7 separate regions of the Homo sapiens genome follow, and all the other regions are linked to region 4. Evidence: promoter capture Hi-C in 16 types of primary human blood cells and fetal thymus (Javierre and others, 2016). All regions are on one chromosome and are shown on one strand. Each heading gives the region's core, a stretch centred on a gene start or on the middle of the fragment in contact. The rest is flanking DNA. Distances are from core to core; before and after follow the strand shown.

The links. Contacts are between HindIII fragments. The CHiCAGO score rates a contact against its expected background, and 5 or more counts as called.
Region 1: a contact is called between a fragment that was not itself captured here and the fragment with the promoter of MRPL50 in region 4, in 1 of 17 cell types (naive B cells). The highest score is 8.0, in naive B cells.
Region 2: a contact is called between the fragment with the promoter of RAD23B here and the fragment with the promoter of MRPL50 in region 4, in 5 of 17 cell types (activated CD4 T cells, total CD4 T cells, non-activated CD4 T cells and 2 more). The highest score is 12.7, in activated CD4 T cells.
Region 3: a contact is called between the fragment with the promoter of FANCC here and the fragment with the promoter of MRPL50 in region 4, in 2 of 17 cell types (total B cells and naive B cells). The highest score is 12.7, in total B cells.
Region 5: a contact is called between a fragment that was not itself captured here and the fragment with the promoter of MRPL50 in region 4, in 4 of 17 cell types (naive CD8 T cells, total CD4 T cells, activated CD4 T cells and 1 more). The highest score is 7.3, in naive CD8 T cells.
Region 6: a contact is called between the fragment with the promoter of ERCC6L2 here and the fragment with the promoter of MRPL50 in region 4, in 1 of 17 cell types (total B cells). The highest score is 8.5, in total B cells.
Region 7: a contact is called between the fragment with the promoter of ZNF169 here and the fragment with the promoter of MRPL50 in region 4, in 2 of 17 cell types (monocytes and fetal thymus). The highest score is 9.7, in monocytes.

Annotation. Positions count from the first base shown.
Region 1 is chr9:94,164,840-94,168,461 of GRCh38, reverse strand. It overlaps MIRLET7A1HG (miRlet-7a-1/let-7f-1/let-7d cluster host gene), which reads right to left and starts at 2,204. Exons shown (of 5, transcript NR_170278.1): 1 at 2,081-2,204. RefSeq lists silencers at 1,480-1,549, 1,780-2,579 and an enhancer at 2,275-2,839. The HindIII fragment of the contact is 4,683 bases long and covers 1-3,622 here.
Region 2 is chr9:107,281,902-107,285,427 of GRCh38, reverse strand. It overlaps RAD23B (RAD23 nucleotide excision repair protein B), which reads right to left and starts at 2,149. Exons shown (of 10, transcript NM_002874.5): 1 at 1,733-2,149. The coding sequence starts at 1,798. RefSeq lists a silencer at 1,611-2,170 and an enhancer at 2,661-2,820. The HindIII fragment of the contact is 9,258 bases long and covers 1-3,526 here.
Region 3 is chr9:95,316,007-95,319,590 of GRCh38, reverse strand. FANCC (FA complementation group C) reads left to right here and starts at 1,882. Exons shown (of 15, transcript NM_000136.3): 1 at 1,882-2,065. RefSeq lists a silencer at 2,211-2,530. The HindIII fragment of the contact is 1,904 bases long and covers 1,323-3,226 here.
Region 4 is chr9:101,396,798-101,400,525 of GRCh38, reverse strand. MRPL50 (mitochondrial ribosomal protein L50) reads left to right here and starts at 1,908. Exons shown (of 2, transcript NM_019051.3): 1 at 1,908-2,025. The coding sequence starts at 1,934. ZNF189 (zinc finger protein 189) reads right to left here and starts at 1,675. Exons shown (of 3, transcript NM_003452.4): 1 at 1,337-1,675; 2 at 516-642. The coding sequence starts at 1,369. RefSeq lists enhancers at 1,675-2,204, 1,737-2,265, 2,266-2,795. The HindIII fragment of the contact is 1,128 bases long and covers 906-2,033 here.
Region 5 is chr9:107,297,981-107,301,470 of GRCh38, reverse strand. It overlaps RAD23B (RAD23 nucleotide excision repair protein B), which reads right to left. Exons shown (of 10, transcript NM_002874.5): 2 at 1,249-1,330. Among named protein-coding and RNA genes, the nearest start is that of RAD23B, 16 kb to the right of the region's middle. The HindIII fragment of the contact is 654 bases long and covers 1,665-2,318 here.
Region 6 is chr9:95,873,786-95,877,309 of GRCh38, reverse strand. ERCC6L2 (ERCC excision repair 6 like 2) reads right to left here and starts at 1,619. Exons shown (of 19, transcript NM_020207.7): 1 at 1,226-1,619. The coding sequence starts at 1,271. ERCC6L2-AS1 (ERCC6L2 antisense RNA 1) reads left to right here and starts at 1,333. Exons shown (of 3, transcript NR_023390.1): 1 at 1,333-1,445. RefSeq lists enhancers at 1,409-1,468, 1,529-1,758, 890-1,764, 1,899-1,998, 2,039-2,088 and 1 more. The HindIII fragment of the contact is 4,005 bases long and covers 1-3,524 here.
Region 7 is chr9:94,257,520-94,260,972 of GRCh38, reverse strand. ZNF169 (zinc finger protein 169) reads right to left here and starts at 1,675. Exons shown (of 5, transcript NM_194320.4): 1 at 1,628-1,675. It overlaps LINC02603 (long intergenic non-protein coding RNA 2603), which reads left to right and starts at 1,662. Exons shown (of 3, transcript NR_160773.1): 1 at 1,662-1,862. RefSeq lists enhancers at 218-863, 1,193-1,322, 864-1,510, 1,353-1,672, 1,511-2,156. The HindIII fragment of the contact is 11,618 bases long and covers 1-3,453 here.

The DNA.
Region 1 (3,622 bases), core at 911-3,410, 7.2 Mb after region 4:
CCCTACAGAAGTTGTTTTTCAACTTTTGACACTCAGCTTCACAGGATTATTTTACAGGAATACACATGTGTCGAGCTGAATCAACACGCTATTTTGTATTCAATGGAATATTTTCTACTTTTTAAAAAATTCGGATCACCACCCACTAAAGTGACTTCATGACCCTATAACTCAGGACCTACAGTTTGAAACACTAGTTTGGCGCTCTTAACACTCGGTAATTCCCATATGAGTAGTTATTATACTATCTTAGCTATTAAAAGTACACAATGTCTTGTGTGCTGCTCTCTAAACCAAGATATGTCTAGTTAATGATAACAGGAATAAAATGACCTTAAGATATAAACGTTTGAGACTAACTTGTTTAATACTTATTTCTTCACTGTGTAAAACTGAACGCAGTTACACATTTTCGTTTTAGAAATGGTTTTGTTTCACTCCACTTTTCACACTTGCAAGATTCTTAAGTGTCTCAAGTTCAACAGAGCTTCAATTTAAGTGAGGGGAACCCACAGCCTGTCTACACATAAAAATACTCTCTTGCTGTCACTGCAATGTAACTATTCAAAAAAGTTAACTTTTCCCCTCACACTGTAATTGCACCTAAGTGATAAATTTTAAAATGCTATATAATACCACTGAATTTACAGGACGTCAAGAAATTTGTCTATTCTCAAAGTTGAAGTTTCAAAGTAAACTTTTAACAAATATGTATAATGAATCAAACATTCTCACAAAACCCAAAGTAACTTCCAAGTTTTTACTTCCCTAACTACACATACTTCCCGAATATACAGTAAATAAAACCAGACCCCGCCAAACACCAAAAGAATTCTGGATATAAACAATTATTTCCTAAACTACACATAAATTTGGAATTTGACATTCAATGTTCTTATACTTCAGGCCAACAGAAATAAATGCAAAGGAATGCCACATGATGCTTTAACTTTAGGAACTGTATGCCAAGAAAGCAGTATTATCAATGAAGTTAAAAAGCAAAACTCAACCAGTCTCCTGATTTACCTCAAAATTTTAACATTCACTGTCTTCCCTGCCTTTTTCCTGTCTGCCCGCCCTCTCGTTAGTCAATTTTTTAAAAACCGGTAAGTTGAAGAATACATACCATTACCTCTGACACAGAATCTACTGTAAAAAGTTGAAAGACCGAAGGGCATTACTGGCCAAGGACATACAGGTTACCACATTCCTCACACTAGAGCCCGCCCGGGAAGTTTATTAGCAAGCCTTCTGAGAGGCACTCGGTTCCAAGAGTTTGCAGCGTCGACTCAAAAGGCCAGCGCTGTTTCCGGTGACACCGAGTCGCAAATCTCCAAGCCCCGTCCCCCGGGATACGATTTCCTCCCGCTCCCGCGTTCCCCTCCCCCTCGCCAAGGACGGCTGCCGCAGCGGACCTCCAGCCGCAGCAGCTGCTTCAGGAAGGGAGGCTGCACTTGGCCGCGGGGAGCAGGGGCATGCAGCCAGCCACGACTCTCCCGCCCTCCCCGCCCGCGCCTTCCCGCCCTGTCCCCCCGCCCCTCGCACTTCCTACCTTCCCTCCTTCATCCCAACCCCCAAGGCCAAGGTCTCCCCGGCCCACAAACTTGATAGCGGAAGTGACGTCAGAGGCACCTGGCGGCGCCTACAACCAGTCACGCCACAGTCAGAGGCGGCGCCGGCCAACAGGCGCCGGCCGGAAGGCGGGCCTTCCGCCCGCCCCAAGTTTGATTGAAGCGGGGGGAAGGGCGGGGTAAGGAATGTGAAGAATGACCCCCCCTCCCCCGCCCTGTCGGTGAGGAGCTGGGCGGGAAGCGGAGGGGGTTGGAGCCGGCCCCGCGGCGGCCACGCGGCACCCCTCCCCCGTGCCCCGAGCGCCCGCGACTTCCGCTAGCAGCCCGCCGGCCCCCCGGGGCCACCCGCCCGCTGGAGGGGGCAGGCCGCCCCACCAGTCCCAGCCCGCGTTAGCCGGACAGGCGCGGGCCGGCGCACGGCTCTCCCATTCTGCCCACCCGCTGCCGCGAGTCTCCGCGAAATAAAATGGCGACGGACCCGCGCTCGCTGCCGCGTCCGCCATACCCACCTCGCGCTCGCGGAGAGGGCCGTCGCGGCCGTGGGAATGCCCCGGCCCTCGCGCCCGTCGCTGCCGGGAGAGCACCGCGCCAGGACCCGGATGGAGGCGCGGGCGGGCGCCGCCGCGGCGGCCTGAGGGAAAGCAGCGCGGTCGCCGGGAGGCCGATGCAGGGGCGGGCGCCGCGGAAAGCGCGCAAGCCCATTGGTGAAGCCGTCTGATTGAAGTGCGCGTCGCTCTTTCGCCTTGGCCTAGCTGAGCTCGTCCGTCCCCTCACTGGAGGGCGGCGGCTGGGCCCGCCTCGCGCGGGGTGGCCACCGTGGGGGAGGCGGGTCTGGCCCGCCCACCAATACCATCTCCTTCTTTCCTAGTGGAGGGCTGAGAGAGTGGCGGGGGTGGTGTCCTCCAGGCCCTGCCCTTTGCGCGTGATGGGCTGGCTGTGTCACGTGGCCGCTGAACGCGCTGCCCGCGGGGCGGGGCGGCTGCTTTGCTCCCTCAGGCTCCTGGGGGCAATTTACACGTGCGCGACCCGGAAGGTCCGAACGCTGTCCAGCGTGCAGCCTCTGGCTCTTTTCCGTCAACTGACCCTGTTCCCTCCAGGAGGCCTTGGCCAGGCCTCCTGGAGTTCTGTGCCTCAGTTTGCTCATCTGTCAAATGGAGGAGTTGTGTCCGCCCAACCTTTTACTTTTATTCCTTGACGTTTTGGGGTCTGAGGGTTTTTTTGTTGTTTGTTTTTTCGAGACACGGTCTCTCGCTCTTTCTCCAGGGCTGGAGTGCAGTGGCGTGGGTCACGGCTCACTGTAGCCTCGACATCCGGACTCTAGAGATCCTCCCACCTCAGCCTCCCTGAGCTTTTTTTTGTTATCTTTTCCAACCCATGTTTTGAAGATTTTTGTCTTCAAATGTTTTTCAAAGCAATCCTTGATTTTGTTGTTTTAAAATTAATCCAAAGCCCAGTTCCTCCATCCCCATTACAACTTTCACATGCTAGGACTCTGAAATCACTAGTTAAGGTGTCGTTTGAGGTCTCTGCCAGTTTTAAGATTTTATGGCTGGGAACCGCAAGACCTGGGCTGTAGCTCTGCTTTTTGTAATTCATTGTGACTTTGTGCAACACTTTTAAAAAAGTGGGTCCTTGTCTGTAATAGAACTATGGGAAATAGTACTTGACATGCTGTACGTTTACATTTATGATCTTAGGTGGTGGTATCAGCTCCCCTTTTAGCACTCATATTAGTGTATGCAATAAGTGCCAAAGGAGTTTGTTTCGTTTTGTTTTTAATGGGGACTTTATTTTGTGAGCTAAAGTGAACAAGAAACTAGAGGGGGGGAAACTTGAGCTTAAGCCATGGGTAGGATTTGGGGAGGACTTCTTGAGGTTAGAAGATATATTGAGAAAGGAGAGAGCAGGCCCCAGAGCTAGATCGAGTACAGTTCAGGGGAAGAGTGTGGTTATGCTGCAGGGGATGTGGAACTCTTCAAGGGCAGAAACTGTTTTGTTCCTGTCTATGCCAAGTACCTAGCACAGCAGTAGGGTAGGATTAAATGATATCT
Region 2 (3,526 bases), core at 900-3,399, 5.9 Mb before region 4:
TTAGCTTTCAATAATTCTGAAATTAACTGAGTATTATAAGCCGATTAAGTTACTGGGGCACCAACATTTGTTACCACAAAGAACCAAAGTCAAATAGGCATTTTACGTAGTTTGTCTGAAATCATCAAACAAACTCCATTTTAACTTTCACCCTTCAACTTATTAATGCACATTAAGCAGTAAAGAAATATTCAAGAGAAATTAGATTCTATTAGTACTGTCAGTCCACAGGGTATTGTCAATTACTTCTGAGGACACTGAAAAGTTTCTCATGTATAACTGAGATCTCCTGTACTTTTAAGAAGTTAATCACACAGCATACACCCACATATAAATATTCTGAAATCAAATAATTTTGTACCAAAATCCCAAAAAGGCTGTTTCTTAAAAAATTAAAGATGTACAAAACTTAAGATTAAATGAGATAAGTAAAACGTAACACTGTATCTCCACTCAAAGGAATCCATTGTTTAAATAATCGATTCCATTTACTGACCACCAAGTAAATACATACCATCTAATCTTCACATCTCTGCAAGGCAGGTATTATCCCTATTATACAGAGAATGAAACTAACCGTAATTTGCCCAAGGTCATAGCAAATAAGTTACAAAACCACAAATGGAACTCAGGTCTACTTAACACCAAAGCCCCTGATCTCCACCCAAAATAGAATCAACTACTTTTAAAAATAGAGTTGGGCAGAAAGCTGCTGGTTTAAACTTAGTATTATGACAATCTTGGCGGTGTATTTCCGAACATAAGCAGTAAATTTACACTCACAGCGTTTTTAGATTCTTGGCATAAAGTTGTACTGACCTCAACAGTGTCTCTTTATGCAGTCACAAATACAGAAAAATGTATAATGTGGACTTCTGAAATGTTTAAGGCTTTAACTGCAGAAAGGATTCAAAGTTGTTGTTTTTTGTTTTTTTTTTCTTTTTTCCCCCTTGAACTGCTACTGTTTGGGGCATCGGGGGAGGGTGGCTGCAGCGTTCCAACTCCTACAATTCCAAGATTTCTAACACAGAAAACCCGTTAAATCTGAAGTTTAGTTTGAGCCTGGATGGCTGTGAAGAGCTCTAACAGCTAAAACCATCACCAAAGAGGCCTCAAAGTGCAATCTACGCAAGGGTGTGGGTTTGGTGGCGGGAGGAAGGCAGCAGAACGATTCATTTGCAAATAAAAGGGTAAACAATTCTGAGGGGAAAGGGGCAAATTCATTTTCACCACCACTCACCTCTCGGCGGCAAACGGAACCTGATACTTTTTTTTTTCTTAAGGCTCATCTTCTCGGGTTACCAACTCTGGGAACTAAGCGGCTAACCAGGTCCACACAGGGGTAGTGGCGACGCCTACGTCTCCCTCCCCCACCTGTGCACCCATACCAGAAAGCCAGGCTCTACGGCTGAGACGGCCTGGACCTTCCCATCCCCCTCCGGCCCCGCTAGCACGAGCTCCTAGGCCCAGGCCCGCGGGCGTGCGCTCCACGCCATCTGCCACCAGGCCTTCGGCGTCCGGCCACTGCTTCCCCATTCTCCTGCCACAAAGCCCACGGCCAAGACAGGAGGATCGGCTCCGCTGTACGCCGCCAGGGCCGGCACCAGGACCCAGGGCCCTCATCGCGCCCTCCGGGGCTTCCCCCGCTGGAGCGCGCCGCCCGGCCCCACGAGCTCCTGGCGCTCCCCGCGGCCCGCACGCGGCTGCCCCTGCCCCCGGCCCGCGCGCATACCGTCTCCTCGGGGTCAATGTCTATCTTGAAGGTCTGCTGCTGGAGGGTCTTCAGGGTGACCTGCATGGTGCCGCCGCGCAGCTCGGCTGCCGGGCCTGCGCCGGGTGCTGGCCGCTGGGCGGGGTCTGTGGCCTGGCGGGGCCCCGGGGTCGCCCGCGCTCCTCGCGCTCTGGGGAGGAAGGCGGTGGGGGTGGGGGCTTGTCACATTCGCCCAGCGGAGCGGCCTCTCCCCCAGCCCGTGCCCCGGACCGCGCCGCTGCCTCCGCGACTGCGGCCTTCCCCGCGAACTCGGGCCGCCGTGCTTCCTCACGCGCCGAGCGCCAGCCACGGAGTCTGCAGAAGGCGCGAGGGGGTCGGCGAGACAAGCAGGGAATCCGCTAGCTCACCACAGGATGGTGGCCGCCATCATCGTGACTCGCCGAGACGTGCCCCCTCCCCCACGCGAAAAACCTGGGGGGATGGGGCCGGGCGGGCGAAGCGCGCAGGCGTGGGGTGCGGCGACGCTTTGCGCCGGCGCGGCCGAGGACTCCGCCCCAGAATTGGGGGCGGGGCGGAAGGCGGTCCTGGAATGTCGGCGGCCTGGACCCGGATTACGCAGGCGCGTTCCGTGGGCGGCAAGGGCTCCTGGGGCTTCCTCCTAGCGACTATTGCTGGGGCGTTCTCTCCGGCTGCCGCGGCTCCGCCTCTGTGCAGGCTCCGCCCGGCTGCCGAAGTTACGCAATGTGTAGCCCGGGAAGCGCTTCGTGGAGACCCGGCAGAGTGGATGCGGAGCCCTGGAGCGGGGGAGTAATCGGGGCGGAGTTTAAGTGAAAGGATGGCGGTAACCACAGTCTGGGGGCCAGCACCCGCGGGGCGCTTGCTGCGGGGCTCAGCCCTGGGGGTGTCGACTGATTCTTTAATCCCGACAGCACAGACTCCTGAGCTGGACTGCCCGAGTTCAAATATTGTTTTTTCTCACTAGCCTAAACAGATGGACCGATTTAAAATGAAGGTCAAGTTCTGTCACACCTCGGGGTAGAACTGTCCAGTGTTTCCCCATCTAGCCCCGAGTTAAAGTCAGAGTTATTAGAACGGATGCATTAGCCCCTCGCCTTTCTCCGAGTCGCCTTACTCTCCCCACTGGTGGATTCTAGGTTGCCCCCGGCTCCCTTAACATCCTTGCTCAGATATTGCCTTCTTGGTGAGGTCTGTTCTGGCTGCCTTACTTAAAATCCCAACTTCCTATCTCTGTTATCCTGCTCTGTTTTCTTGTATAGCGGGTATCCCTTTATAATTACCCTGTAATGTACGTATCTCTTGTTTATCATCTTTCTCCTTTTCCTGTGAACCCCAGACTGAAGCTGCACAGAGGCAAAGATTTTGCTGTGTTCACCCATGAACATGCCTGGCACATTGCAGGTGCACGGTAAATATTTGTGGAATGGGTGAATGTGCTTCTGGATCCTCAGCAGTAGAATGAGAATAATAATGTCACTCATTGATTATTGGAGGGGGAAGTTGAATATTGTATGTAAAATCATGATAAACAGTCTGTAAGCAGTTAGCTATTAGTAGAAAGTCCGTTTACAGATAGAAAACTGAAGTACAGAGATGTTGAGTAATGCACCTGGAATAACCCAGCCAGTAGTAAATGGCAAATCCACAATGTGACCTCAGACAGAATGACTCCAGAGTCTGTGTCCCAGGGTGTGCCACTATTCCCCTGTTTTTTGTTTTAAAGATTATTCTTATTTTTTTAAAGCGTCTGACTGTCATCCACGCTGGAGCGCTGTAGCACAAACACGGCTCACTGCA
Region 3 (3,584 bases), core at 633-3,132, 6.1 Mb after region 4:
TGTCCTTTGCAGCAACATGGATGGAGCTGGAGGACATTATCCTAAGTGAACAAACTCAGAAACAGAAAATCAAATATTGCATGTTCTCATAAGCGGGAGCTAAACAATAGGTATACATGTACATAAGAATGGGAATAACAAGACACTGGGGACTCCAAAAAGGGAGAGGGTGGGAAGGGGGTGAGGGCTGAAAAATTAGCTATTGGGTACAATGTTCAATGTTTGGGGGACAGGTACACCAGAAGCCCAATCCCCACCATTACACAATATACCTATGTAACAAGCAAGCACATGTACCCCCGAATCTAAAATTAAAAAACAATCAAAAAGCACCGACTTCCTTAACTGGCATGGAATAGTTTCGAGAATGGATGTAAACACCGAATTCCTTAATGTAGTTGCAGATTCTGCCAGTTTTGTCTCAACCTCTGGATCGGTTCCTTTTTTTAACTACCTTTAATTCTTAAACAGATTGTTGCTATTGCTATGCTATATACTTATTGTATCACTTATAAATGTATAACCTCTGCAAATTAGTCTCTGAATTGAAAGTATTCATTGGTAAAACGGGTATTTCTTCACCATAGGAATAGTTGGACATGTTTAAATACTTGAGAGCTATTTTTATTACAAGCACACACAGCTTTGTGGTGTTTTTTGTTGAGACAGAGTCTCGCTCTGTTGCCCAGGCTGGAGTGCAGTAGTGCGATCTTGGCTTACTGCAACCTTCGCCTCCTGGGTTCAAGCAATTCTCCTGCCTCAGCCTCCTAAGTAGCCGGGAGTACACACTAATTTTTGTATTTTTAGTAGAGACGGGTTTTTGCCATGTTGGCCAGGCTGGTCTCAAACTCTTGACCTCAGGTGATCCACCCGCCTCAGCTTCCCAAAGTGCTGGGATTAGAGGTGTGAGCCACCGCGCCCGGCCTGTAGTGTGTTTTTGAACGTATATGTGAAGTTGTAGCTTTTTTTTTTTTTTTTTTGAGACGGAGTCTCCCTCTGTCGCCAGGCTGGAGTGCAGTGGCGCGATCTCGGCTCACTGCAACCTCTGACTCCCTGGTTCAAGCTATTCTGCCTCAGCCTCCAGAGTAGCTGAGATTACAGGCGCCCGCCACCGCGCCCGGTTAAACGTTTTGTATTTTTAGTAGAGACGGCGTTTCACCATGTTGGCCAGAATGGTCTCGATCTTCTGACCTCGTGATCCGCCCGCCTTGGCCTTCCAAAGTGCTGGGATTACAGGCCTGAGACACAGCGCCCGACCTAAGCTGTAGTTTTATGATTATGATTTATGGTTGTGAGGCATTGATTTAAGACATTTTAAAGCTTAAGTCGTCAGATCCTAGAAGAAAAAAAAATTCACCAAGACAAGCTAATGCCATTGTCATAAATGGGAGTTTGGAGAAAATTTTATTAATATTTGTTTGGGTGGTTTATGTACAGCGTTGAACTGATTTGAACCCCGACCAAACACTGTATGGAACTAATGTACGGTAGGGGAAATCATTAACTGAAGATGCCTTTTTTGTTGCTATTGTTTAGAACGCAGTTAGAAAATCTTATTTTAGAGGTTTTACCCCGTTGACAAAGCCTCAACTTTTCTTCAAAAGAACTAATTTCCATTTTACCTCCCCTACATTTTGAACAGAATATGGAAGAAGCCAGCGCCCCTTCTCCGCGGGCGCTGCTGCAACCCTGCTCCCGCCGGGGCTTCCGCGCGAAACCGGGAACACTGGAGCAGTACCGACTCCGCTCGCCTAGAACCCGCCCCAGCCGGGCCCACTTCCGCCAGAGCCCTGGCCGCGCCCGCCCCGCCCCACGGACCCGAGATTCGTCGGAATTTTCCCGCGACGCCGCGGGAGCGCGCGGGGCCGCTAGCCAGGCCCCAGAATGCACTGCTGACACGTGTGCGCGCGCGCGGCTCCACTGCCGGGCGACCGCGGGAAAATTCCAAAAAAACTCAAAAAGCCAATACGAGGCAAAGCCAAATTTTCAAGCCACAGATCCCGGGCGGTGGCTTCCTTTCCGCCACTGCCCAAACTGCTGAAGCAGCTCCCGCGAGGACCACCCGGTAAGCGGCAGGCCGCAGAACGCAGCGAGGGCGGAGGCTTCCCTCGGGGGTCTGGCCGACACGTCAGCGGCGAGAGCGGGAGGAGGAGGCGAGGGGCAAGAGGGAAGGCTCGCGAGAGCGGGTGGGCCAGGCGCGCCTTGCGGTGGGCGAGAGGGGTTCCCGCCGGCGCAGGGCTGTGGCTAAGGCTGAGGCGGGAGGCGGGAGGCGGGAGGCGGAAGGTGGCGGGCGGTGCCAGCCCGCGGGGCGGGGCCAGGGCGGGGAAAGCGGGGGCGGGAGCCGGCGCTGGGGTCGCGCGGAAGGGAGCCCCCGGAGAGGCGGGAGCCGGGTGTTGGCGTTTTGGTTCTTTTTGTTCATTGAGCGCAGGCAGCTATGTCTTCTTCAAAGGAGAGGAGCAAAGGTGAATTTCTCTGCCTCGGACTCGTGGGAGCCGTGAAAAGCTCGCCCCTTTGAGCCGGTCGCCCTCTACAGCTGGCCTCGTCCTCCCCGTCCCTCACACCCCTGCCCCCAAACCCCATTCGCCGGGGCGCCAGGAGGGGCGAGGTCCAATTAGAGGAGCCCGGGGCGCGGCTGTTACCCCTCCCGCCCTCCGCCTTTTATTCCCGGAGGGAGGCGGGTTCGCAGAGGCCAGTGTCTTCCCTCCATTCTTTTTGTGGACGCCAGGCCATATCTTCAAAGCCCGTGAGAGATTTTTCAGGTGCTGTTTGTTGGTTTGCTCTTTTTAATTTTTTAGGTGGGTGCGTTTACAACTACGAACCCTCTATGATCTTATGTGTCCAGCGCACCGAATGGGGGAAAAGACTTGGAGTTTTATAACATGGGAAATTGGGTACCAGAATCTTAAGGGAAGAGACCAAGGAGTTTTCTAGCAAAGTCCTGTATGTGCCTGGACTTTTGTTCTAATCTGAAACTTGGAAAACTCCCGGGCATCTGATTTTATTCTAACTTGTGCCCCATTTAATGCATCTAAACTGTGATGTGATTTGACTTAGCATTTATCAAATGAGCAGAGCACTTTTGGGCCACCCAACTTCAGCTCTTTGTGGCTGTCACTCACTGTCAGTGATATGCCCTCAGACAGATCGTTTTCTCCTTACTCCCCTGAAAGGTTGTTACAAACAGTAGAATTCATACCATGTGTTGAGATCATTCATTACCTAAGCTTAGATGGAAAACATGTTCATTGCGACTTTATACATTAAACTTGAATTGATGTTTCAATGTTATGTGCTGTACCAGAGTCACCTGGAAATAAGCACTCATATACATTATTCATATACAAGAAAGGCTGCATCGAAAAAGAATTTGTTTTCCTAGATATATCAGAGATCTTTTTCACCAACCCACTACTCCCAGTAATAGAGCCTGCTTCTTGAGAACTGGACTAATTATACTTTGTATATTATACATTCGAATTTATTTTTGCTTTATTCGGTCATATTTTCTCTTGATTTCTCCAAAAACGTTTACCAAGGCATCAGAAAAGAAAAGCAGGCTCTATATTGGTATTTTTTGTTTTGTC
Region 4 (3,728 bases), core at 659-3,158:
GAAGGTGGAAAACTAATGCTTTGGGGACAGCATTTAAAAGCTGAGTGAACAATAACTTCCCCCTTCCAACATTGAGACAAAGGATGGGGAAGGAGGAGGATGTGGGAGAATAAGCAGCCCCCACTTGAAAAACTGCCAGAGAAACGTTGTCCTTGGGATAGTGCCAGGTTTCAGTTAAGGCCAGGAGGGAAGGAACATTATGTGAAGACGAACAGGGGTTCCAGAACGCAGAGTGAAAAGGGGTGGGAGGAAAGCTGTGGGAGGATGAGCCAGGACGGAAAGTACAGAACAATATGGGAATGAGATTATGAAGACAGGATGCCCGAAAGGCTTGCAGTTTGGTCACCTCAAGGAAGCTAGGGATGAGAGTTATGGAAACAATTAATGGCTAAAAGGTTTGAATCAGAACTTTGGAACAAAGCAGTTTTGGTACTGGTTTCCGTCCAAATGTTCTGTTAGTCTGATTTCTCTCTACCTTCTTAGATATTTTAATTAGAGAAACAGCAGATTCTTACCCAGTGAGACCAGGTTTCCATAATTCTCCATCATGACATCTTTATACAGGCTTCTCTGAGCTGGGTCCAGATAATCCCACTCCTCCTGGGTAAAAAACACAGCCACATCCTCAAATGTCAGCAACCCCTGAAATAGTATGATTTCTGTAGTCAGTTCCTGTTGTCTCAAGGACAATTCTACCACTAAAAGTGACAGAGGCAATCACTTATTGTGGCCAAGTAGGCTAGGAGGAACATGATAACTGAAAGTTCCATATGTTGCCCAATTCTGGGAACGAACTGTAACTGACAGACATCTCAGACTAGAAAGGACCTACGGATAAGGCTTTTCTGATTTATTATGCCCTGAGAGTTTAATTTTAGTAAACTGCCCCAAGGCCTCTCCAAGCTTCCCTCACCTCATTGCCTACTTCAATTTTCCATTTGCACTGGCTTGTGACTCTATTCAATTCAATTCCTTGAGGTTCTCTAAGCGTGTACCTTGGGGTCCAGGCACTGTGCCAGGAACAGAAGACACAAGGGAAGGTCAAAAATGGTGCTTCACCTGGAGAACTCACAAATGAGAGAGCTAGTCTGGAGCATTACTTATTTTCTCAGGCCGATTTATCAAGTCTCTCTAGAAAAAGAAAAAAAAAAAGGGAGCCAGTGGGCAGTTTGTTCGCGAACCGCACCCCAATGCACTAGTGGGGAGTTCCTTGCAAGGCGCTGGCCCTAAAGAGGCGGTCAGGAGGTTGGTGGGGGGCCTGGGGGAGAAAGCAGTGGTGCGGCCTAGCTGGGGTAGCGGCGAGACAACCGGGATCCCCGGGGGGGTGCTTACTTACCTTCGACTCCGGCGGGGGGCTCGGGGAAGCCATCTCCCAGGCAGAGAATAGGGGCAGGAATTGGGGGCGGCCTCACGGAAAGGAGCCTCTGGTGAGGCCTACCCGGCTGCTGGAAATTAGGCTCGACGAATACGAGGATCCCTGGCTGGGTCTGGCCAGTGCCTGCCTCGGCCCCCAGACGGTCACGACCCCAACAGCATATCAGACGCGATCCCTGGCTGTCCCCCAACCCCGAACCCCAACCCCTACTCCTGCCTGGTTACGCAGCCTTTCAGGCCTCGCTAGAGCCTCCTCCCCGCTGCCAGTTCCTCCTCCTTGCAGCCAAGTAACGCTATGACCGCCCGCCCCCGGACCAGAAGGCGTCACCCAGATTCTTCCCGAGGCCCCCTCAACTACAACTCCCGTCATGCTCGGAAAGAGCGCCGCGGTCCAGACGCCGCCAGCAACAGCTACTGGACTACATTTCCCAGCGTGCAAAGGGCGAGGGAGCCTACAGGAAAAAGAAAGCTCTTGCCACTGGGATTGTATCCGATTGGCTGGTCTGGGCGCGTCACTGCTGGCTGAAGGCTGCGCTCAGGCCCGTGGATCTCATCGAAGATGGCGGCGCGATCTGTGTCGGGCATTACCAGAAGAGTCTTCATGTGGACAGTCTCAGGGACACCATGTAGAGAATTTTGGTCTCGATTCAGGTAAAGCTTTATGGTGGACGGTGGGTCATGTTCAAGGAAAGTTAAGGAGGATTAGGGACGAATTCAAAATAGAGTGTTACGCCATCGTGGTCCCGCGCCTGATCAGAGCAAGGACAAGGAGGTCCGGTTAGGGTCCCGAGTTGAGAAGCACTCATTGAGTGGTGGGACCCAGTCTCTTCCACTCTCGGCCTTAGTTTTCTCATTTTATAACGGAAATACCACCCCCTTTCCTTTTCACTTCACTCATTCATTTATTTATTAAGCAAGCAGGATTAACCTCGTGTGCGAGACACCGAGTGTGTTGTCTGCAAACACATGAAAGCGCTTGGTAAACTAAACTCATTTGCCGGCTGTGTTTCTTCACAAGCAAGGTTCAGTAATGAAGTACTGCCTCCTCCTTTTGTTTGTTCATTCATTCAGTCATTCAACAGATTTCTTAGGGCCAGCATTACTCTAAGCGCCTAGGATACAGCAGGAAAAACAAAATCCATTCTCATCCTCGAGGTACTCCAACATATGAGGAAACAGGCCCACAGGAGGGAAGTGATTTTCCCAAAGTCACAAAGCAAGTTAATTGCAAAGCTGGATCTAGAACATATGTCTCCTAACTCCCCATCTACTGCTTTTTCTGCTGCACGGCTGCACCATGTGTAATTGTTTGAAGGTAAATCTAATTTGACTTAGATAGTGTTTAGGAAATCAAAACGTATGGTAGGAACCCTAGGGAGCAATGTATGCTCTCTTAGGTTTAAAACAAAAACCACTACAATTAGGAAAGATCTTTTTCATCAGTTCAGATATTAGCTTTCCCTCTTCTTTGGTCAATATTTGTTATTATCTCTCAAATCTCTTCCAAGTTTGTTTTATTCATTCACTCAACAAATATTTTTTAGGCTGTTTACTATATGCCAGGCTATATCTTAGGTGTTGTAAGAATACAGTGGTTACTAAAACAGACCAAATTTTTGTTCTCGTAGGGCATATGTTCTAATGGAGGAAGAAATGAACAAATGTGTAATGTAATTTCAGAAAGTGGTAAATTATGAAGAAAACTAGAGGAAATAGATTACTGAGAATGATGATTATATTTTCTTTACTATTTTAAAAATTTTATATATTTAAGATATACAACTTGATGTTGATTATTAGTCAAGATAATTATCATATTCATCTCTTCACATACTTTCTGTTTTGTTTTGTTTTAGAGAAAGGAGTTCTCACTATGTTGCACAGGCTGGTCTTGAACTCCTGGACTCAAGTAATTTTCCCACCTTGGCCTCCCAAATTGCTGGGATTCCAGGGGTGAGCCACCACACCTGGCCAGTTAGAATTTTTGTGTGTGTGGTGAAAACACTTAAGATTTACTCTCAGAAGATTTCAAGTATACAGTACAGTATTATTAATGATCGTCACCATGGTGTACATTAGATCTCTGGAACTTATTCATTCTACATAATTTAAATTTTACCTTTGTCCAACGTCTCTTCATTTCCGCCACCCCTGGTAGCCACCATCCTACTCTCTGTTTCTATGAATTTGACTTTTTTTTTGTTTGTGTTGGAGATGGAGTCTCACTCTGTCTCCAGGCTGGAGTGCAGTGGCGCTATCTTGGCTCACTGCAACCTCCGCCTCCCAGGTTCAAGCGATTCTCCTGCCTCAGCCTCCCGAGTAGCTGGGACTACAGGTGCCCGCCACCACGCCCG
Region 5 (3,490 bases), core at 742-3,241, 5.9 Mb before region 4:
AATGTATTGATTATATAAAAGACTTACTGGGCAAGGAAATATGAAAGAGGCCCTGAAAAGGAGGAGATCATGAAGATAAAGAAAATTCAATACTCCGATTGCACAGGGGTCCTCTGGAAAATAACCTATATTCTTTTATGATATGAAGAAAGGGAGAGAAACAAATTTCCTGCTCCCCAAAATACTGATATCTGATAAATCAGAAATGTTCTAACACTATCAAAGCAAGATACTAAAAGTACTTCAGAAAACGACATGATACACAAGAAAGGGCAAGATGCTACAGAACTTAGAAATGCACGAAGTACACAAAACTGTGGTCGTGCTGAAGGTCACTATTAGGTAGCTAGGACTCTCTAGTGTTTCTTGCTACATGAATTTAGTTTTCCACCTTTAAAAAGCTATTGAATCAAAAGCTGCTAACATTAAGTCAGAAAGGAATATGGATAGGAATGAGAAAACAGGCCAAAACAAGAAACTGGAAATTTGAATTTTATGTCCGCTTCTTTAGGCTTCTGAATTCTGACCTATAAAAATAATGGGACTGAATCACCAGGTTAGCATTTCCTCCAGGCTGTCTCACTTTAGGAAACACTATTCAGAAAAAGAGAAGAATCCATGGGTGATCAAACACCCACCTTACTAACATCTACAATGAAAGCATTTTCTCTAAAAATTTGGATATCAAATGTATTTTTAATATACATTTTCCTGGTTATTAGTGAGGCTAGTCAAATGTATAATTCCTACTCTTATCCTTTGTTGCTTTATTGGTCATCCTTTCCTTACTGATTTCTAAGAATTCTTTACATAATCTGAATATTAATTTTTTTTCTTCCTGTAGGTGTCTGTGTGATGTGTTTTTTCTGTACTCTTCAGTTAGTTTTGGTTAAAATAATTTTACAGGAATGATTCCAAGCATACTAATAATAACACAATCAGTATAAATGGTTTCAATTCAATTTAAAAAAAAAAGCTCCGTTTGATTAAAAAAACAAAAGCCAGTTACACGATGCTTACAAAAGATAAAACAAAACTAATACCATTTGATGGAAAAATACACAGGGCAAATGTGAATAAAGAGAAGATTGAATATTAATATTAGATTCAAATGACTGCTCTTTCACTGCTTTTATTTGTACAATCATTTTTCTGACAATTTGAATATACTACAATATATAAGATAACATTTCTAAAACTAAAAGAATATCAAGACATGGCATGTTAATTTTAATATTTAATTCATACCTGCATAAATTAATTTTTGACCTGCTACTGGAAAGGCATCTTTCCCCTTTTCAGATTCAATCTTCTCTTTCAGTGCTTTCACCTATAGGAAAAATAAAGATTTGTTTTGGAAAAAGTCTAAATAAAAAATGACAATCCAGAATCTGAATAAATAATGGAAGACAAAAATTATATACATAATTATTAATGTTTCCAAAACCTCAAATATTATGTTTTTCCAATTTATATCAAAAAAGATTCAACATTAACTCATATTACTAGTTATGATAGCCATAAACTTTAACACCATCTGATACACACAGATTTTTAAAAATTTACTAGTTGAACTGATAATTTAAAATAAAGTTTTCAACATCAAAGTTTTGGTTTATATACTGTTCATGGGTTTATTTCCCACGGAGCAAGAAAGTAAAGCTTGATCACCTAAAAAATCTAAGAAATAAAACAGTCTCATCAACAATAAGAATACTTCAATGTTAAAGGTTAAATTGTGAATGTTAAAAGGCAAATGATTCATTTTAAGTGTTATGTTTCATTACAATCACCAGGGGGACTTTACAAACACCAATTAAAACATAATCTCTGAGAGTGGGACCTTGACATCAGTATTTTTAAAAAGTTTTACAGGTGTTTCCAAAGTTCAGCCCAGGCTGAAAACCTCCAGACAACTTCAATGCTCTTAAACAAGCAGCTTAGCTTCTCTCAGCATCAGCTTCATTCATCTGTAAGAGGAGCTGGAATCCATGACCTTTATAGTCTCTTCATTTCCTAAAATTGTGTGACAATTAGGCTCATTATACAGTATTTACAAAAATGAGTCTAATGAACTTCTTAACTTGTTAAGTAGGGAGGTACAGGAGTAAAAAAGGCAGAGATGGCTTTCCCATTTGCCTTTATAGAACTACTTTCATTACTTTAAAGGCACAAAAACCAAGGAGAAAAATTCAATACTTCTTGAAAATTATCTAAGTTGACAGTTCTCTTGAGTTTTAGACAGAAAGGGATACAAATAAAGGTTTCTTTTGTACAATTAAAAAGTGATGGTGTGTACTTCAAAGATAAAAAAAGCTTATTTAGCTTCAGATGTTAACATACAATTTCACACAATCCTCAAAACTCTGGGACAAAAGGAAATGTCACCCACTCAATTTTATAGATGAGGAGACGGAAATAAAGAGGTTACCACCCCTTATGACTCCAAGCAGAGTATTTTGCAAATACCATATAAACCTTCCTTGCTGCACTGATCTTCCTGAAATGGGTCAGTAGCATCACTGCTATTCTGATGTTCCCCAAAGTAGAAATCCATCACAAAAATCTCAATCCACTATTTTCCACTGTTCCCCATTTCAAAGGTAAAACACAAGTAAAATTTTTTTAAAGCCAAACATCAGATTTGCAAAAAAAAAAGTAAAACAGTGTCAGTCTTTTCAGTGCTTTGGTGTTACTGTTGTTTTGGCAGATAGTTATTTTTTGCAAAAAAAGTAAGTATAATATTTATTATAATAAGTTTATATTTATTTTTAAATGAACATTAATAAAGTTTGTTTTAATTTCTAATGTGGTAAACATTAATAAATGTAAGTACATTGGGTCAGGCGCAGTGGCTGATGCCTGTAATCCCAGCACTTTGGGAGGCTGCAGTGGGAGGATCACCTGAGGCCAGGAGTTCGAGGTCAGCCTGGCTAACATGGTAAAACCCTGTCTCTACTAAAAATGCAAAAAAAAAAAAAAAAAAAAAAAAAAAATTAGCCAAGCATGGCGGTAAATGCCTGTAATCCCAGCTACTTGGGAGGACGAGGTACAAGAATCATTTGAAAAGTGGAGGTTGCAGTGGGCCAAGATCATACCACTGCACTCCAGCCTGGGTGACAGAGTGAGAATCTGCCTTAAAAAATAAATAAATAAAATAAAACGTAAGCATATCGACAAAAGTTATTTTGGAGCCCTCAATAACTTATTTAAATGTAAACAAGTCTTGAAACCAAGTCATTTGAAGACTGCTATCCTACATGCTAAGAGACTTGCCAAGTCAACCAACTGATGGCAGAGCATGGGTGGAGCACTCAGTGGTGTATGGTAAATTTCTTCTCAAACTTTGTTTGTAGAGGGACAAAAGGATACAATATTTGCAAGTGTGATTATTTAGGAAAACTACAAATAAATTACAGACCAAGTGTATCTCTATGCATAAACCCAGTTCTCAGAACAATACATAGTGGCTTGGCATGGAGTGGGTGCT
Region 6 (3,524 bases), core at 370-2,869, 5.5 Mb after region 4:
TATTTTGGGTTTGAGTTCGGATAATTTCTAGGACGAAATAAATTCAGTTGAGTTAGAAATGGAATCTCTCAGTATCCAAACTACAGAACAACTGCTTAAATTGTTAAGATTTCCTGTTGGATTTAACAGGGAAATGGGTTAAGTGTCCTAAAATTTAATGAGTCGAAATCATTTGTTTTGGTTTAAACTAATTACCAACTCAACTCATTCTGGTGATAGGGTCTCTCTCTCCCTCTTTCACTCCAAAGGCCTCCTCAAGCATTCCTCAAGGGTGTTCCCACCTCGGGGCCCTGGAGCTTTCTGCTCCTTCCACCAATTTCCCTAAATACCAAGAGTGACTAGATTTATCAAAAGGAATGAGCCTCCCAGTCACAATATCCACTCGGCAGCTTCATCTATTTTTAGCTGCCAGTCTCCTATAGGTATTTATATGTTTGGTCCCTGAATTACAGCGTCATCAATTCCTAGACCTCAGAATTCAGGCTTGTAACTTGCCCTCTCTGAACTTTAGCTCTGAATTCATCTATTTAATGAGATCGATATCTTCCTCAAAGGAAAGCAAGTAAACAATCAGCATATTGCTGGGCTCAGGAAAATCACTCAATACCTGGTAGCTTTTGTTATACAGCACAATTATTAATGAAAACTACTCATTTGGGTGCCAGAAGGCATCCCAGGTGACTTGTGGTAGATAATCACACCTTCTTTAAACCTCCTATTTAAGGCAGAATATAATGCCCTGACTCAATAGGCAATAAAACTCAACTGAACTAAATATCTCAACCTTCATTTATCTACTTACAACAAACTTCTGCCATTCACTAACAACTGGGGCATACAAGAATAAAGAATGAAAATAACATTTACTGAGTGCTTAATATGGGCCACACGCGGGGTCACATAAATACTTTGCGTATTCCCCACGTCATTTAATAATCGCAAGAACCTAGTAATGAACCCAGTTTTACAGATGAGGAGCCTGCCCAAAGTTGCTCAGCAAGTAACTGTCAGAGGCAGCACTAGATCCCAGGGGCTGACTCCCGAGTCCAGGTTCTCAACACTGAATCGGAGATTTGGTTCCAGGCCTGGAGGGGTTCACAATCTGCAGCTGTCACTGAAGAGGATCTACAGGGCAAAACCCCAACCCGAAGGGCACCGGCAAGAACTGGTCCAACGCGACGCAGTACACAGGCCTCTGCGTAAGGGGCGAGCGCGGAGCTGGTACCTTTGCCTGAGGTTTCCGCGCGGGGCTGTGGCGCCGACGGATCCATCCGGCCAGGGGGAGGGGCCGAGCCCGGCTGCATGTAACACCCGGAAGGCGGCGGAGGACAGCAAGGTGGCTGGCCGGCAGGCCAATGGCGGCCAACGCCACTTCCGGCCGCCCTCCGAGCATCGCTCTTCGGCAACCCGAAGCCACAGGATGGAGGAGGGGGATCCCAGCAAAGGTAGCGACTAAGGGGACCCAAGCAGAACGGGAGGGCGACGTCCGGAGCGGCGGCAGAGCCAGGGGACGCTGTGTGAGGCTGGCAAAGCGGTGTTCACCTAGTTCTCTCGGGCTCCGCCGCCGCCGGAGGAGGACAGGAGGCCGGCAAGGCGACCCCCAAATCTTCCTAGGCTCTGACTTCCGTCTCCTAACCCCCGCAAATTCCAACCCGGTCTTGGAAAATCCCGCGAGAACGGGCTCCCGAATTGTCATTGGGATCTCGCGAGAACGAAATCTTCCTTTCTGTGGGCGGAGCAATCTTCCCGATGTCTCTTCCCTCTGAGGCCAGTAGCAGGAAGGGCCTCGGGAGTTGCGAGTGTCGCGAGGTTTGAGGTCGCTCGGTGGGCCGGGCGCTGTGCGAAGCTAGAAATAACTGGGGGCATGGAGAATGCGGTGGCTGTAAAGGGCCGCTGAGGCGGTGGAGGCCTGGCAGAGAGCGTCCCCGCGGTCGCGGCTTCTGGCTTCTCTGTGGAGCTTGGTTCTTCCGTGGTGGTGCAGCACCCCAGGAACTTCAGGAACCAGTCCTTCCTTGGAGAGCTCCCCGGGACAGCCACGGGGGCCAAGTGAAACTAGCGCGTTTTCTTGGATCCTACACTTTATAGTGAGTCATAAATACTTTAAATACAAAGCCAACAACATTTGCTGCAAATAAACGTAAAAATACTGTTAAAGTGTAAAGTGTTTTCCTCCGTACCATCTGACGTTTCTGGCGGTTCGTTGAACGCGAGAGAACGCTGAGCCGTCTGCACTGAGCCCGGGAGCATCTTCAGGGCAGCGCCGCCCACGCGCGAGGTGAATGAAGGACACGGCCTCTTGACACTCCCAGGCAGCACAGATAGACGGATCCGTAAGTGGCTCCCGCGCATGTTAAAATTTGTATACTGTAAGGTATTTCATGGATTGAGTGAAATACCTGACAGGGCCTGTATCCGTTCCCTATTGCCACAATAACCAAAAACCACAAACTTTGTAGCTTGAAACAGCACAAATTTATCATCTGACAGACAATGCATTTATTATCTCACGGTTCTGTAGATCAGAAGTGCTACCTGGGTGTCACCCGGGCTGCACTCCTTTCTGGTGACTCCACAGGACAATCCTTAGCTTGCCTTTGCCAGCTTCTGTCCACATTCCTTGGCTTTGGTCCCTTCCTCCATCTTCAAAGCCAGTGATATGCCATCTCTCTGAACCTTCCATCCTCAAGTCTACCGCTGATTGCAGCTGGAAAAGATTCTGAGGGCTCACCTGAGTAATCCAGGATCATCTTCCCATTTCCAGGTCTCTGCCCTTGATCACATCAGCAGAATCCTTTTGCCATGTAAGCTAATATATTCACGAATTCCGGAAATTAGGAGATAAACATCTTTGGGGGATCATTATTCTGCCTACAGTAGTGTCTTAAGAAAACAATATGGCTGTTTGCAAATAGATCTCAATTCTATGGCAGATACTAAAAACTAGTAGTATGTGTTCATAAAATGCTTCATTTAAAATATGACTTGTTTGCTTACCAGCAGGCAATAACTTTAAGCCTAAGTGAAACATCTAACTCAGCCATCTATGTGTGAGTTGTTGGCCAGATCACTTCTCCGTGTTTTATTGTACTCACCTATCACCATTACAGTGAAGCTAATAATAGTAAACTACCTAAAAATGGTAATTGTAAAAAATTAGATAATTAAGTAAAACTCCTAAAACAGTAGCTGGTCATAGTAAGGAATATATGTGTTGTTATTACTATTATTATCAATGGAATGCATCCACTTGAAAGTTGCATTCTACATAGCCATTATGTCAGTTTAATATTTTGGCTAATAGGCCGGGCGCGGTTGGCTCATGCCTGTAATCCCAGCACTCTGGGAGGCCAAGGTGAGCGGATCATGAGGTCAAGAGATCAAGACCATCCTGGCCAATATGGTGAAACCCCGTCTCTAATAAAAATACAAAAATTAGCTGGGCGTAGTGGCACATGCCTGTAGTCCCAGCTACTCAGGAGGCTGAGGCAGGAGAATCGCTTGAACCCGGGAGGTCTATAGAGGTT
Region 7 (3,453 bases), core at 426-2,925, 7.1 Mb after region 4:
TGGCGGGCGCCTGTGGTACCAGCTACTCAGGAGCCTGAGGCAGAGAATTGCTTGAACCCGGGAGGCCGTGGTTGCAGTGAGCTGAGATCACTCCACTGCACTCCAGCCTGGGCGACAGAGTGAGACTTCATCTCAAAAAAAAAAAAAAAAAAAAAAAAAATGTAGGTTTGGATGCCTTCCACCCAACTTCTTCCCCCACCTCCAGGAATTCAAGGAGTCACTCAACAGCCCCCTGAGGCTTGAGAAAAATGTTCCTTGGCCCTATGGGCACCATTCTGCTTGTTGCAACCCATGCTCCCGGAAGGGTCCCCAAGTCCGAGGGAGCCACACAGCTGCAGAAGCCGACAATCTGGATACAAGCACGCCCCCATGCAACCCACAACCCAGGGATGTCTAACTCCAGGCAAGCCCTTCTCAACTCACCAACTTGGGTCCCCAGGCCCCAAGGCTACTGACCCGAGTCGCACGGCCCTAGCCGTCCCCCCCCCCACTATCAAGACCAAGTCTGGATGTCTACCCACAAACAATCCTCCCCCACAAACCCGGGTCCTAGTGGCCAAGCTGCACCATCACCACCACAGTGCACCAGCCATCCACAAGAGCCCTAATAACTGGACTGAGGTTGGGCACGGTGGCTCACGCCTGTAATCCCAGTACTTTGGGAGGCCGAGGCGGGGGGATTACTTGAGGTCAGGAGTTCGAGACCAGCCTTGCCAACATGGTGAAACCCCGTCTCTACTAAAACACAAAATATTAGCCGGGCGTGGTGGCGTGCGCCTGTAGTCCCAGCTACTCGGGAGCCTGAGGCAGGGGAATCACGCCACTGCACTCCAGCCTGGGCGACAAGAGCGAAACTCTGTCTCAAAAAAACAAAACAAAACAAAAACCAAAAAATTAGCCGGGCGTGGTGGCGGGTGCCTGTAATCCCAGCTGCTCGGGAGGCTGACGCGGGAGCATGGCTTGAACCCGGCGGCTGGGGTGGGGCGCGGAGATTGCAGTGAACCGAGATTGCGCCACTGCACTCCAGCCTGGGCGACAGAGAGAGACTCTGTTTCAAAAATAAATAAATAAATAAATAAAATTTAATAAATAAACAAATAAACAACCCGACTGATGCCCAAGCCGCGTGCCTCCCACTAATGGGGAAGTTTGCTCCAACCGAGGATATCATGTCCTCCAAAGGCACATTTGCTGGCCCAGAGACCTCCGAGGCGCGATGGTGGGGAGGGGATGGCGGGATACTAGTGGCAGGATGCTGTCTGGGTACCCCAGGCAGAGCCCACTCAGCGGCCCCCGAAGTACCGGGGACGCACCTGCGAAGTAGCTCGGGAAGTCGGTCCCAGGCCTGCACTGGCCCCTCCAGGTCAACATACTGGGCCCAAAGTCCCGCCAGAAGCACGCGACAACGCCAACGCCCCCTCCCCACCAGAGGACCTCCGCCAAGACCTCTCTCCGGGGTGGACCACGCACGCCCAGACCCCACAGCCGAAACTCAAAACACCAAGGAACATGTGGCCACGACATGGACTGCCCATGCCAGCTTTCCCGACCTTCCTTCCAGTGGAAGGCCCGCGAAAGCGGGGACCACCTCCGGGCTAGCTCACCAGAACTGTGAAAGGACACTCACCACGCACCAGGCGACGATGCCGGAACGCGGAAGTACGCGAGCCGGACTGCCCCTGGGCACGGAACTACACTACCCAGACTGCCACGGGGCGCGCAACTACCCTACCGTGGATGCCCTGGAGCGAGGGACTACAACATCCAGAATGCTGCGAGGGGCGGGACCGCAGCATCCAGGAGAAATTGTGAAAAATCAGAAAGTAAAATCTAACTTTCGGGTCTATGAGAAGGGTGGTCAGGTGAGCAGTAAGTCTTCTTTAACTTTTTATACGGTCCTTCTAATTTTTTTTTTTTTTAAAAAGATGTTACATGTCCTCCATCCTGCAAATTCACACCTGTGATTGTACACCCCTGAACTTTATCTACTTACTTATTTTTTGAGAAGGGGTCTTGCTCTGTCGGCCAGGCTGCAGTACAATGGTGTGATCATAGCTCACTGCAGCCTCAAACCCCTGGCCAAGCAATCCTCTCACCTCAACTTTCTGAGTAGCTGGGAATACAGGTGCATAGCACCACACCGGGCTAATTTTTTGTTTTGTTTTTTAGAATCTGGGTCTCGCGGCCGGGCGCGGTGGCTCACGCCTGTAATCCCAGCACTTTGGGAGGCTGAGGCGGGCGGATCAGAGGTCAGGAGTTCGAGAGCAGCCTGGCCAATGTGGTAAAATCCCGTCTCTACTAAAAATACAAAAATTACCTGGGCGTCGTGATGGGCGCCTGTAGTCCCGGCTACTCAGGAGGGTGAGGCAGGAGAATCACTTTGAACTCGGGAGGTGGAGGTTGCAGTGAGCCAAGATCGCACCACTGTACTCCAGCCTGGACAACAGAGTGAGATTCCTTCTCAAGGGGGAAAAAAAAAAAAAAGAATCTGGGTCTCGCTATGTTGACCAGGCTGGTCTGGAACTCCTGGCCTCAAGCAATTTTCCCACTTCAGGCTCCCAAAGTGCTGGGATTACAGGCGTGAGCCGTCCTTGTGGCCCAGGCTGCCTTTCGAGTTTATTTAGGGCCCTCTAGCCAGAGGTGGTGAGATTGGCAGTAACTCAAATTCCAACTGCTGGGATAGGTGATTCTCCTCGGGCTAAGGCTGGTGTAAATACTCCCTCCATGCGTGAGAATCAGCTGTGTTTGATCCAGTTTTGCTTTCTGGTATAACAGGGCAGCACTGAGTTCAATGCAATGTCTCATCATTGCTGTGCTTGCCGTCTCCCAAGAACATAGATTCTCTCTCCGCACCACAGAGCCACTGCTGGGGGATGGGTCAGGGGCATTGGTGATTCAAGACTGTCTTTCCTACCTTTTCAGTGCCTCTTTCAGTCATATGAAGTAAAAACCAGGTACTGCGAGTGCTTACCTGATTTTTGGTTCTTGTGAAGGTGCTTTTGTGTGTAAATAGTTGTTAACTTGTTTTTCTTACAAGGGGGAATGATCAGTGGAGCCTTCCATTCCACCATCTTGCTCCACCTCCCACCCCCATGTTTTAAATGACAGTGTGTATGAATGTACTTCTAAAAATGCCAAAAATACTGGGGTTTTTTTTCCTGTTATAAAGAAGAAGATTCTGAAGTTTTTTTTTTAATTCCAATTGATTACAAGAAGATAAGGAAAAACTAAACTTGAGGACATTTAACACTATAGCAATTAAAGTTATCTTACTAATGCAAAGATTGTTTATTAGATGTAACAGAATAATACGCTCAAAAACATACCAAAGTCTTTGCAAAATGAGTTATACTCTTTTTCTAAGAATTTGATAAAAAGTGGTATTTTTAAGTTACTTCCTATTTGCTTCTTCTCAAAATGAAGTAACAGGAACCAGATTTAGCCCTTCACCTT